3 separate regions of the Homo sapiens genome follow, and regions 1 and 2 are each linked to region 3. Evidence: promoter capture Hi-C in human tissues and cell types (Jung and others, 2019). All regions are on one chromosome and are shown on one strand. The core of a region is centred on a gene start or on the middle of the fragment in contact, and the rest is flanking DNA. Distances in the headings are between cores, read along the strand shown. Region 1 overlaps NUB1 (negative regulator of ubiquitin like proteins 1). Region 2 overlaps KMT2C (lysine methyltransferase 2C). Region 3 holds the start of PRKAG2 (protein kinase AMP-activated non-catalytic subunit gamma 2).

Region 1 (3,092 bases), core at 324-2,823, 510 kb after region 3:
AAGGATGCTTCCAACTCCAAAATTCTAAGGTTTTCTTTAATGTACTTAATTGTTTCAAATGATTATAGTTTTTTAACCTGTGCTTTCATAATATAATACAACTTGTTTCTATGATTTGACTTATGTTTCTAGGCAAGGATGCAATCCCCAACTTTAATAATGACCTCATGAAAAAACAATTTTGTTTTTAAAATGACTTCCAGAAATACACTATGGTGTTAAAGAAAGAGAGAGAGGGGACCGTTTGCCACCACAGCAGGAAACAAAACTAAGGAGACTGCAGCATGTGAAAAATGATCCAATTGAAAAAGACAAGTTTCGGCCAGGCGCGGTGGCTCACACCTGTAATCCCAGGACTTTGGGAAACTGAGGTGGGCGCATCACTTGAGGTCAGGAGTTTGAGAACAGCCTGGCCAACATGGTGAAACCCCATCTTTACTAAAAATACAAAAATTAGCCAGGTGTGGTGGCACACACCTGTAATCCCAGCTACTCAGGAGGCTGAGGCACGAGAATTGCTTGAACCCGGGAGGCGGAGCTTGCAGTGAGCCAAGATCGTGCCACTGCACTCCAGCCTGGATGACAAAGTGAGACTCTGTCTCAAGAAAAAAAAAAGGACAAGTTTCTCCTTCCTTCCCAATCTGGAGTAATAAAGAGTTCCTGGTTATTAACACTCCTGTGGGATTATCTTTTTTTGTTCTTTCATACCCAAGAGAGCTAGGGCATGTGAAAGTGGGTACCTCTCTGCGGTTGGTAATATGAGTGGCCGCATGATCCACGTTCCCATCACACGCCCTCAGGCCAAGCCGGGCTTCCTGGGCAGTAAACCCCAACTGCAACAAATTGTCCACTTTTGATGGATCAATATATAGCTCTTTAAAGAGCTGACGTGCCTAGAGACAGGGAAATGTAAGAATCATGTAACCACGGCAATACTTAAAGCTTAATACAAAGTGAAAGCCTAAAAGAAATTAGATTGTATCCAATGTGAATTAAAAGGCATCAGATTTTGGATAAAATCTCTAAACTAGGCCTGTTATTAACAAGTACAAATGGAAACAGACCAACACTACCTCTACTCACATAACTTAGCCACAGCACAACACGAGGTAAGAGGCTGGGTGTTGCAGAAGTGACTGGTAACCACTTTGTTTTTGCAACAAAAGCCCCCGAATTTCAGCTGTGCACGTGGCATTTCTCACCCTCCCTTGCAGCTGGGTGTAGCCAGGTAGTGAAGTCGAAGTCAATGGCATGCAGCCACAGCGCTGGGTGCAGCTGCGGGGTCATCTCTCCAGTGGCCTGCTCTGGACTCTCTCTTGCCCCCTCTGCTGGCTGGAAGAGGCACTGACAGGAGCAACCTAGGACGCCTCGCTGAGGCTGGCGGGCTGCTCACTGCTCCGGCCTGGCTCACCTCTAGACGGCAAGATGAGTGAGCCATAAACTTCTATCCAATTAAAGTCACTGTCTTTTTGAAGTCTCATTACAGCATCTGGCTGTACTCTAACATATACAAATATGTTTCTGGTTCAACATCTCCTGTGCACGGAGAAAGCACAGGCATGTTTCTCACAAGTCACAAACTACTAAGTTAAAATCCTTAACTTCTGGGAATGTTTTTTAAAAGGAGGTGAAAATTGGTTACAACTTTACTTTTCTTACCTTGTTAAGATACTCATAAGCCTCTACATCATTTCCACTGTGATAGTTTCGGATCCCTTGAAGTAAGTAGAGTCTTAGAAACAGTACCTTCTCTTTCCCACAATTTCCCTAAAATTATTGAAGAAAAAAAGGATAAAATTGCCTTATTTCTAATTACAGGTCTATAATACTCATCTCTGTCATTCCCTTGGTCTCCAGAGGGGCAACATGATAGGTATTAAAATGTCCATGGCTTCACTATGACTGACGGCAAAAGTGAAGCCCCCTCTTCCCCATCCCCTGTGGTATGATAACATTCCTCATGCCACACAGGAGAGTCAGTGTCAGGGCACCAGCCTCCAGACATGCAGCACAGTGGCCCTTCTGGTCAGCAGAGAAGTATGCAGAAATCCAAACCAGGTATCAGAGAGTCTGCATCAGCAGGATTTTGATGACTTGGGGAAATCAGAAAAATCCTTACTCGAGCCACAGCTCTTGAGCTGTGACTCATTCACGTAAACCATTACTGCTGAAATGTCTATTTTCTGCATTTACATCTTGCAAATTAGACTCTACCGATATAAAGAAGTCAGCAGCTCTCTCCTGGTCAGGGTGATCACTGATGGGGTTCTATGACTAGCAAACCATGTTCCTTTGGGCTAAATGCTCACACGCTAAGTAAGAGAGACAGCCAGATTTGTAAAACATTGAACACTTTATAAATATATAGTTTAAAAAGACTATACTGCATACTACTATCAAAATGAAATTACCTTCTGGCAGTAGTTCAAATACTTTAACAGGAATAAACACAAATGCTAGAAATGGACTCAACGAGACATAAGATGAATTCCAGGAACATACTTTTATGTGGACCAGTCTCTGATGATTTTCTCCGTAACAATTTTTAAAGCATTTCTGGGCCAAGTTTAATTTTTTTTCTGCATCATCAAGGCATTCCAGCTGTTCCAGGCGGAAGTAACACCACACTATATCCAGCTGGAGGACGGCGTAGTTATCCACTGTGTCCAGCAGCTCTCTGCAACACTCACTGGAAAGAGAAGGACAGTGACATCACTGCCAAGCAGCATTTGAAACATTTTTAGCATTTGAAACCTTTTTGTGAATGACTGGAATTCTTTCCCCGTTCTTGGTATATATTCAAAGGCTGACTGCTCTAAAAGAGAGATCCTAATGTTTAGGAAGGGAGCTGTGTTTATAATCTCATCCTTCTAATGGGGGAAAGAAAGAGAAATCAGAAATCAGGGCTTAGGAATCAAAGCTTACCACCACTTGCCCCAGGACACACATGCAGCCCCTTGATAGGAAGCAGAACCCAGGGCCACTGTTTCAGAGGCCCTCAGCAAATACGGGGAAGACCATGCTTTAAAGCTGTGACTTCCAATCCTGACTGCAAATCAGCATCACCTGGGCCAGAGCAACGTTCTTTCTTT
Region 2 (2,927 bases), core at 165-2,664, 280 kb before region 3:
AATCATTGTCCTTTAAAGGGTATTAATGTGATTTATTGGGTTTATTGTTGTTTGTAGATGTCTAAAATGAAAGAGCAGAAGTTGCTATATCAGAGAACGCCGTCGTGGAAGAGAGTTTAAGAACTGTCTGGGGTTTGATGTCTTTGTGTCAGTTCTTTAACTGTAAGATTCTAATTGGGGAGAATCAAGTTCCCTTAGTAGATGATCGCTAGCCAACTCTTTAGATCCAGAGGGTTCTTACAACTTCATCAAATAATTATCTCTTCTTTGGAAAATCTGCCCACTACCCTCTATTTGATGAGACATTTATTTAACCTAAGTCCCTTACTTTATTAATGGGGAAACTTTGGACCGAAGTGGAGAATAATCTGTCCCAATTGAGGATCCAGGTCCTCTTTCTACTGTACCTCAGTAGGCCAGCCTTTCTTGGGTCTCCTGCATGACAGCTACTTCTCTGCGTGAGGAGTGGGAGACAGCAGTTCCACAGGGTTGTGGAACTTAGTCTGAGACCTCACAATTGGCCTGGTAGACTCAAACTTGAACTCAACAGAAGGGACCAGTCTTTTGTTTTTCTCACCTCACTTTATCAGTTAAGAAAAATAAGGGCCGATCAAGTCAATGGCTAAGTTTTCTCCCATCTTGCCAGTGTAAAGAGCAGCAGTAGGACAGCTGTTTTCCCAGTCAGGTGAATGCAGGTGTGACCATTGCATATGTGTTGGACTTCTCTTTCCTTTTTTTTTTGTCTTTTTAAAGTTTTCCTTTTTTATTGTTAAATCCAACCAGCAGCTCTTTCCTTTTCAAGCTGCAGGAGTGCTGCCCTAGGCTCAACGATCTGGGATTTTGAAAAGGTGCTTTCATGCTCTCTATGTTACATGCTAATCAGAACATCTTCCTCTTTGGCAGGTCTTCAAACTTTGGTGCTGAAGCTTTCGTTAAAAGGAAACATACCATTTAAATTATTTTGTAACTAAATATTGTTCTTGTATTTTTTTCCCAGTGTGGCTCTGAGCTGATTCATTTGCTGCTCATCGTATAGGTGCTGCCCAGAGTATCCTTACAGCTGTATTCACAGATGTCAGCAGGGTTGGTACAGGAAGCCCCCAGTGGTGGATTTGCAGACTTTGATGTGTGTGTTTATGTTTTTTCAGGATACAGGATCACTGTGGTGATCGAGATACTCCTGACAGTTTTGTTCCCTCATCCTCTCCTGAGAGTGTGGTTGGGGTAGAAGTGAGCAGGTATCCAGATCTGTCATTGGTCAAGGAGGAGCCTCCAGAACCGGTGCCGTCCCCCATCATTCCAATTCTTCCTAGCACTGCTGGGAAAAGTAAGAACAACACTTAACCTTATTATTTCCCTTTACACTACGCCAATTTACTAATGTAAATATTTTGATTTTGAAAATCCATTAACACTATTTTCCTCTTTTTTTTCTCTCTTTTTAAAGGTTCAGAATCAAGAAGGAATGACATCAAAACTGAGCCAGGCACTTTATATTTTGCGTCACCTTTTGGTCCTTCCCCAAATGGTCCCAGATCAGGTCTTATATCTGTAGCAATTACTCTGCATCCTACAGCTGCTGAGGTAAAAGATTAAATGACTTCTTAATGTTAAACAGTATGTCCCCAATTTTCAAAGATGGGTCAGGTGTCTACCATAAAACACACACAAACAGGATCACTGAGGATAAAGGGTCAGAGAGCAGAGCTGATGCTCACTGCAGACCTCTCAGCTGCCTTTGAGTGCCATCGTTTGTCATTGAATTGGTCTCAGCCTACGTCAAGTAAAAAGGGAAATTAGAGCTCACATTTTCTTATTAAAGGATGTATACTTTAGAGAACTCTTTTTTTTTTTTTTTTTTTAATAGAGACACAGTCTCCTTCTGTTGCCCAGGCTGGAGTGCAGTGGCACAGTCATAGCTCACTGCAGCCTCAAACTTACTGGGCTCAAGTAATCCTTCTGCTTTAGCCTCCTCAGTAGCTGGGACTACATGTGTGAGCCATCATGTCCATCTCAGAAAAAACTTCTTTGTAACTGTTAACAGAGAAGAAAATTAAGCAATGAAAAAGAACTTTATCAACAGTAATAGTTTTGCAGAAGCAATAGAAATGTTCTTCAAGTAGCATCTGCTTATATCAAACATAAGTAATTTCCTGAGGATTTTTTATTTTTTTAACTCTGAATTCTGTGAAGACATTTCAGTAGAGACCAAACTAGAAGTCCAATGATGTGATATTTTGGTTATCAACAAAATACAGCAGTAGCAAGACCTTTGTCTGTTCTTACGGGTTGTGTCAGAGCTGGAGGGAAGCCCCTGGAAGTAAGCTTTCTGACCACCTGTAGGAACTGACGGGGTCTGTCAGATGTTACAATATCTAAAATAGTTTAATGTGTTACTAGATATTTAATGTTAATTGGAATCCCTTTATGAGGATTTCTGTTTATAAATTTCTTTTTTTGGATATTAGTTCGTTAGAGCTAATTTTTTTCCTGAGGTTCTTTAAGTCTAAATAAAATTTGTTGGATTTTCTTAGAATCTATGTATCATGCAAAGAGGATTTATCCTAAGTGTGTATTTTTCTTCAGTGGTTCACTGTTGCCTTCTGGGTGAATAATACAGCATTTGCATTTGGTTTTAGAACATTAGCAGTGTTGTGGCTGCATTTTCCGACCTTCTTCACGTCCGAATCCCTAACAGCTATGAGGTTAGCAGTGCTCCAGATGTCCCATCCATGGGTTTGGTCAGTAGCCACAGAATCAACCCGGGTTTGGAGTATCGACAGCATTTACTTCTCCGTGGGCCTCCGCCAGGATCTGCAAACCCTCCCAGATTAGTGAGCTCTTACCGGCTGAAGCAGCCTAATGTACCATTTCCTCCAACAAGCAATGGTGAGCTAGTGAGCTTTTTGTTAACCCCAAATCCATTC
Region 3 (3,062 bases), core at 58-2,557:
GATGCTTCTCCCTGCGTGGGCGCACGCCTGCTTCCTAAGAGATGATCCTTTGGGTGGGCTGATCATGCCTCCTCCTCTGGGGAGGGAGTCCTGCGAAAGCACGCACCTCAAAAGGAGTAAAGGCCCTATGGTGTCCCCAAAGCGACCCCTGTCGCGTTCTTTCTGCGGGTGGCCTCCCTGCATTACTGATTACTCGGAGCGGCTGAGCTGACGTCAGCATTCTGGGAGCGCCAATGACCTTTGGGGTCATCACATCCTCAGAAACTAGAGCAGGAGGGGAAGCGACCCCCAAGCCAGCACTCCCCCTACTTTCCACCAGGGAGCCGAGGTCGCGCCATCCTGGGGCGCATCTGGGGGTGGGGGACACACCAGCCCCCTCCCCCAACCCCTCTAGGGCCCTCGGCAGCAGGCGGTACTGGATGCCCACCCGGGGCTCTAAAGGACCTGGGCCGCACCGGGAACCCTCGCCCGGGTCTTCGAGCCCTCCCCTTCTCCCAATTCTTTCCGCAGTCTCAGGAGCCCCACGTTTCCCGCGGCGTGGGGACACGCACTTACCGCGGATCCACTGCGCAAACCTTGATGAACCTGAAAAAAGCAGGGTGGGGTGGGGTGGGGTGAGGGTGGGGGTGGCTAGACCCTGCTCGCACCCAGCGCCACGCACCGCTCTCTGGGCGGGTTCGAGTGCGCGCGCCGGGCGGGGCGGGACCCGGGGGCTGCGGTGTTTCGAGAAGCACGTGCTACTTCGCGCGCAGCGCCCCCGGAGACTGTGGGCTTCCTCGCTGCCTGGTCTACGGCAGGGCGGGCGCGGGGGCGTGTTTCAAAGGGTAGGGCACACAGTGAGACGCCGGGAGGCGGGATGGATCCGAAACCAGCTCGCAGCGAGTCCCAAGCGGCTGCGGCCGCCGCAGGGGTCTGGGCGCGGCGACGAGGGCGGCGTGGGGCGACGGGGAGCGGGACGGTGGCGCTGCACGCCGCGCACTTCCTGTTCAACACGCGCCGCCTCCCACCACCCGCGCTCCCCGAGCTTGCGTCGGTGCCAGGCCCGGCCCCTCACTGTCCCCTTGCGGTCCCCTGGGGCCGCGGCGCGGCGGGGGGCGAGGAGCGGGCGCCCTGCCCTTCTTGGCCCGCTGGACTCCGGGCGCCCCCTCCGGCGCGCAGGGCCGCGAGCGCCGCCGCCAGAACTTCTGCCAGCGGCCGCCCGTAGCCTAATTGCGCAGAGGGCTCGCCTTGCACCTCCTCTTCCCCCGCCGCCCTCCCTCTCGCCCAGAAAGGAGGACGGACCCAGCTGCAGGCTCCGAGCTGGTTTATTCTGCGGCCGAGGATTACATTTATGCACGAACGGGCTTACTGGTTCCAGATTCCCCACTTGGGCACAGGCATAGGAGGCTTGTTTTCCAAATTGCTGGTTTTAATTGCACCTGCCTTTCAGATTACCTCTGGGAATCTGTGGGAGGAGCCGAGAGGGTGGAAAATGTTTCTTAGCTTTGCAAAAGGAAGAAAACTTTGTCACCCAGCGGGAGACCTCAGCCACGAGTAACCCGGGGAGACACCAGAACCGGGACGGGCTTTGACTGATTTGCCTACGAGGGTTCCGTAGGAAAGGACGCTTGAATTCGGCGCTTCGGCGGCGGCGGCGGCCGCGCGAGTTCCCTGCTCACCCTCCCTCTCCGCGGAAGTCCCCACGAGGTGGCTTCAGGGTGTAACAGAGCGCGCGGCTCCAGTCCGAAGGCAGCGGCCGGGGGAGGGAAGGAGGGGACCGAACCCCCGAGGAGTTTCGCAGAATCAACTTCTGGTTAGAGTTATGGGAAGCGCGGTTATGGACACCAAGAAGAAAAAAGATGTTTCCAGCCCCGGCGGGAGCGGCGGCAAGAAAAATGCCAGCCAGAAGAGGCGTTCGCTGCGCGTGCACATTCCGGTGAGTCCCAGCACTCGGTCCCCTGCTCCCCAGCCCTCCTGTCGCTCCCGTCCCCGGCGCCGAAGCGGTTAACGCTGGACGCCCCGCGCGCGCCGTGCGTGCCCCTCCTGTCACTTCGGGCGGCTTGGGGAAAGGGTAGAGGGACAGGGCCCGAGCTGGGCTGGCGGAGCCGGGGCTCAATCTCTCTCTCTGCCCGCGTGCAGCCAGGGCTGGGGCTCCGCCTGGGGCGGGGGCTGGGCGGCTGCAGACTAGAGGGGGCGCCGGGCGCGGCGGGTGGGCGGCTGGGCGTAGCCCGGTATCCAGCCGGGTGCGGGTGCGGGGGGCGGTGCGTTGTGTTGTTTTGCTGAAAAGGGACGGTGTGGACTGCGCTCCGGGGAGGTGGAGCCCGCGCTCGGCTGCTGGAGACGGAGAGAGGGGAGGGGAGGGAGGAGAGGGGAGGGGCGGTGGGTGGGGAAAGCAGCGGGGCGGGGGTTGGGGGGAGCTGTGTAGCTGCGTCTTCCAATGCACCCCCTCCGCTCCAGTTTCTCTCCGGGCGTTTCTGGGCCTGGAGCGGGGGTCTCCTCTGCCGCCGTTCCCTTCCCCCGCCCCGGGAGTGTACTTTGGGTCTCTGTGGTATTTGGGGGCTCGGAGCTCCCTAATCCGTGCAGGCTGCATTGAACTTCAGCCCCGTCCGCGCCAGCCGCCCGGGAGGACATTGGCGACTCGGATCTGCCTGCGGCTTCACTTTGTCCAGCCAGAGGGGCGGCGGGCCGCGTAGTGGTTCTCTTTTCGGAAGGCGCCCCGGTAGCCCGCGGCCACTGTTCCTCGCCTCCACGTAGCGGGGTAGGGCGGTGGGAGGTGTGGCCCACTGGGTCACACCCTCCGCCTCAGCCAACCAAGTAAATGTTTGTGTACACACACACACACACACACACACACACACACACACACACACACACACACACCAGAGTGCTCCGTAGAGAAAGTTATTTTGCTCTCCCGGGGCAGGGTGGGAGTGCGCAGTGAATGGGCTGTCCGGACCCCTCATTAAAGCTAATCCTTCCCGACAGGGTCAGGCGCAGCTGGCATGGCCGAGGCAGGCCACTCACTTCCCACTGTGAATCCCAGGGCGCACTGCCCCGTGTTTGCTGAGCCACCCTTCTTTTAG

The links. The method cuts DNA at HindIII sites, captures the fragments that hold promoters and counts their contacts. A contact is called where the count stands out against the background at its distance.
Region 1: a contact is called between a fragment that was not itself captured here and the fragment with the promoter of PRKAG2 in region 3, in 1 of the 25 tissues and cell types used here (thymus).
Region 2: a fragment that was not itself captured here is called in contact with the fragment with the promoter of PRKAG2 in region 3 in 1 of the 25 tissues and cell types used here (mesendoderm cells).

The regions. Positions count from the first base shown.
Region 1 is chr7:151,366,536-151,369,627 of GRCh38, reverse strand. It overlaps NUB1 (negative regulator of ubiquitin like proteins 1), which reads right to left. Exons shown (of 15, transcript NM_001243351.2): 9 at 2,503-2,689; 10 at 1,660-1,767; 11 at 741-893. It also overlaps a transcript of WDR86 not described here. Among named protein-coding and RNA genes, the nearest start is that of NUB1, 26 kb to the right of the region's middle. The HindIII fragment of the contact is 5,819 bases long and covers 1-3,092 here.
Region 2 is chr7:152,152,667-152,155,593 of GRCh38, reverse strand. KMT2C (lysine methyltransferase 2C) reads left to right here. Exons shown (of 59, transcript NM_170606.3): 47 at 1,149-1,327; 48 at 1,448-1,584; 49 at 2,640-2,889. Among named protein-coding and RNA genes, the nearest start is that of GALNT11, 130 kb to the right of the region's middle. The HindIII fragment of the contact is 5,593 bases long and covers 1-2,927 here.
Region 3 is chr7:151,875,360-151,878,421 of GRCh38, reverse strand. It overlaps PRKAG2 (protein kinase AMP-activated non-catalytic subunit gamma 2), which reads left to right and starts at 1,307. Exons shown (of 16, transcript NM_016203.4): 1 at 1,307-1,915. The coding sequence starts at 1,802. It overlaps PRKAG2-AS1 (PRKAG2 antisense RNA 1), which reads right to left and starts at 1,380. Exons shown (of 3, transcript NR_038926.1): 1 at 1,282-1,380; 2 at 556-585. RefSeq lists silencers at 813-1,242, 2,005-2,054, 2,115-2,254 and an enhancer at 2,445-2,564. The HindIII fragment of the contact is 16,422 bases long and covers 1-3,062 here.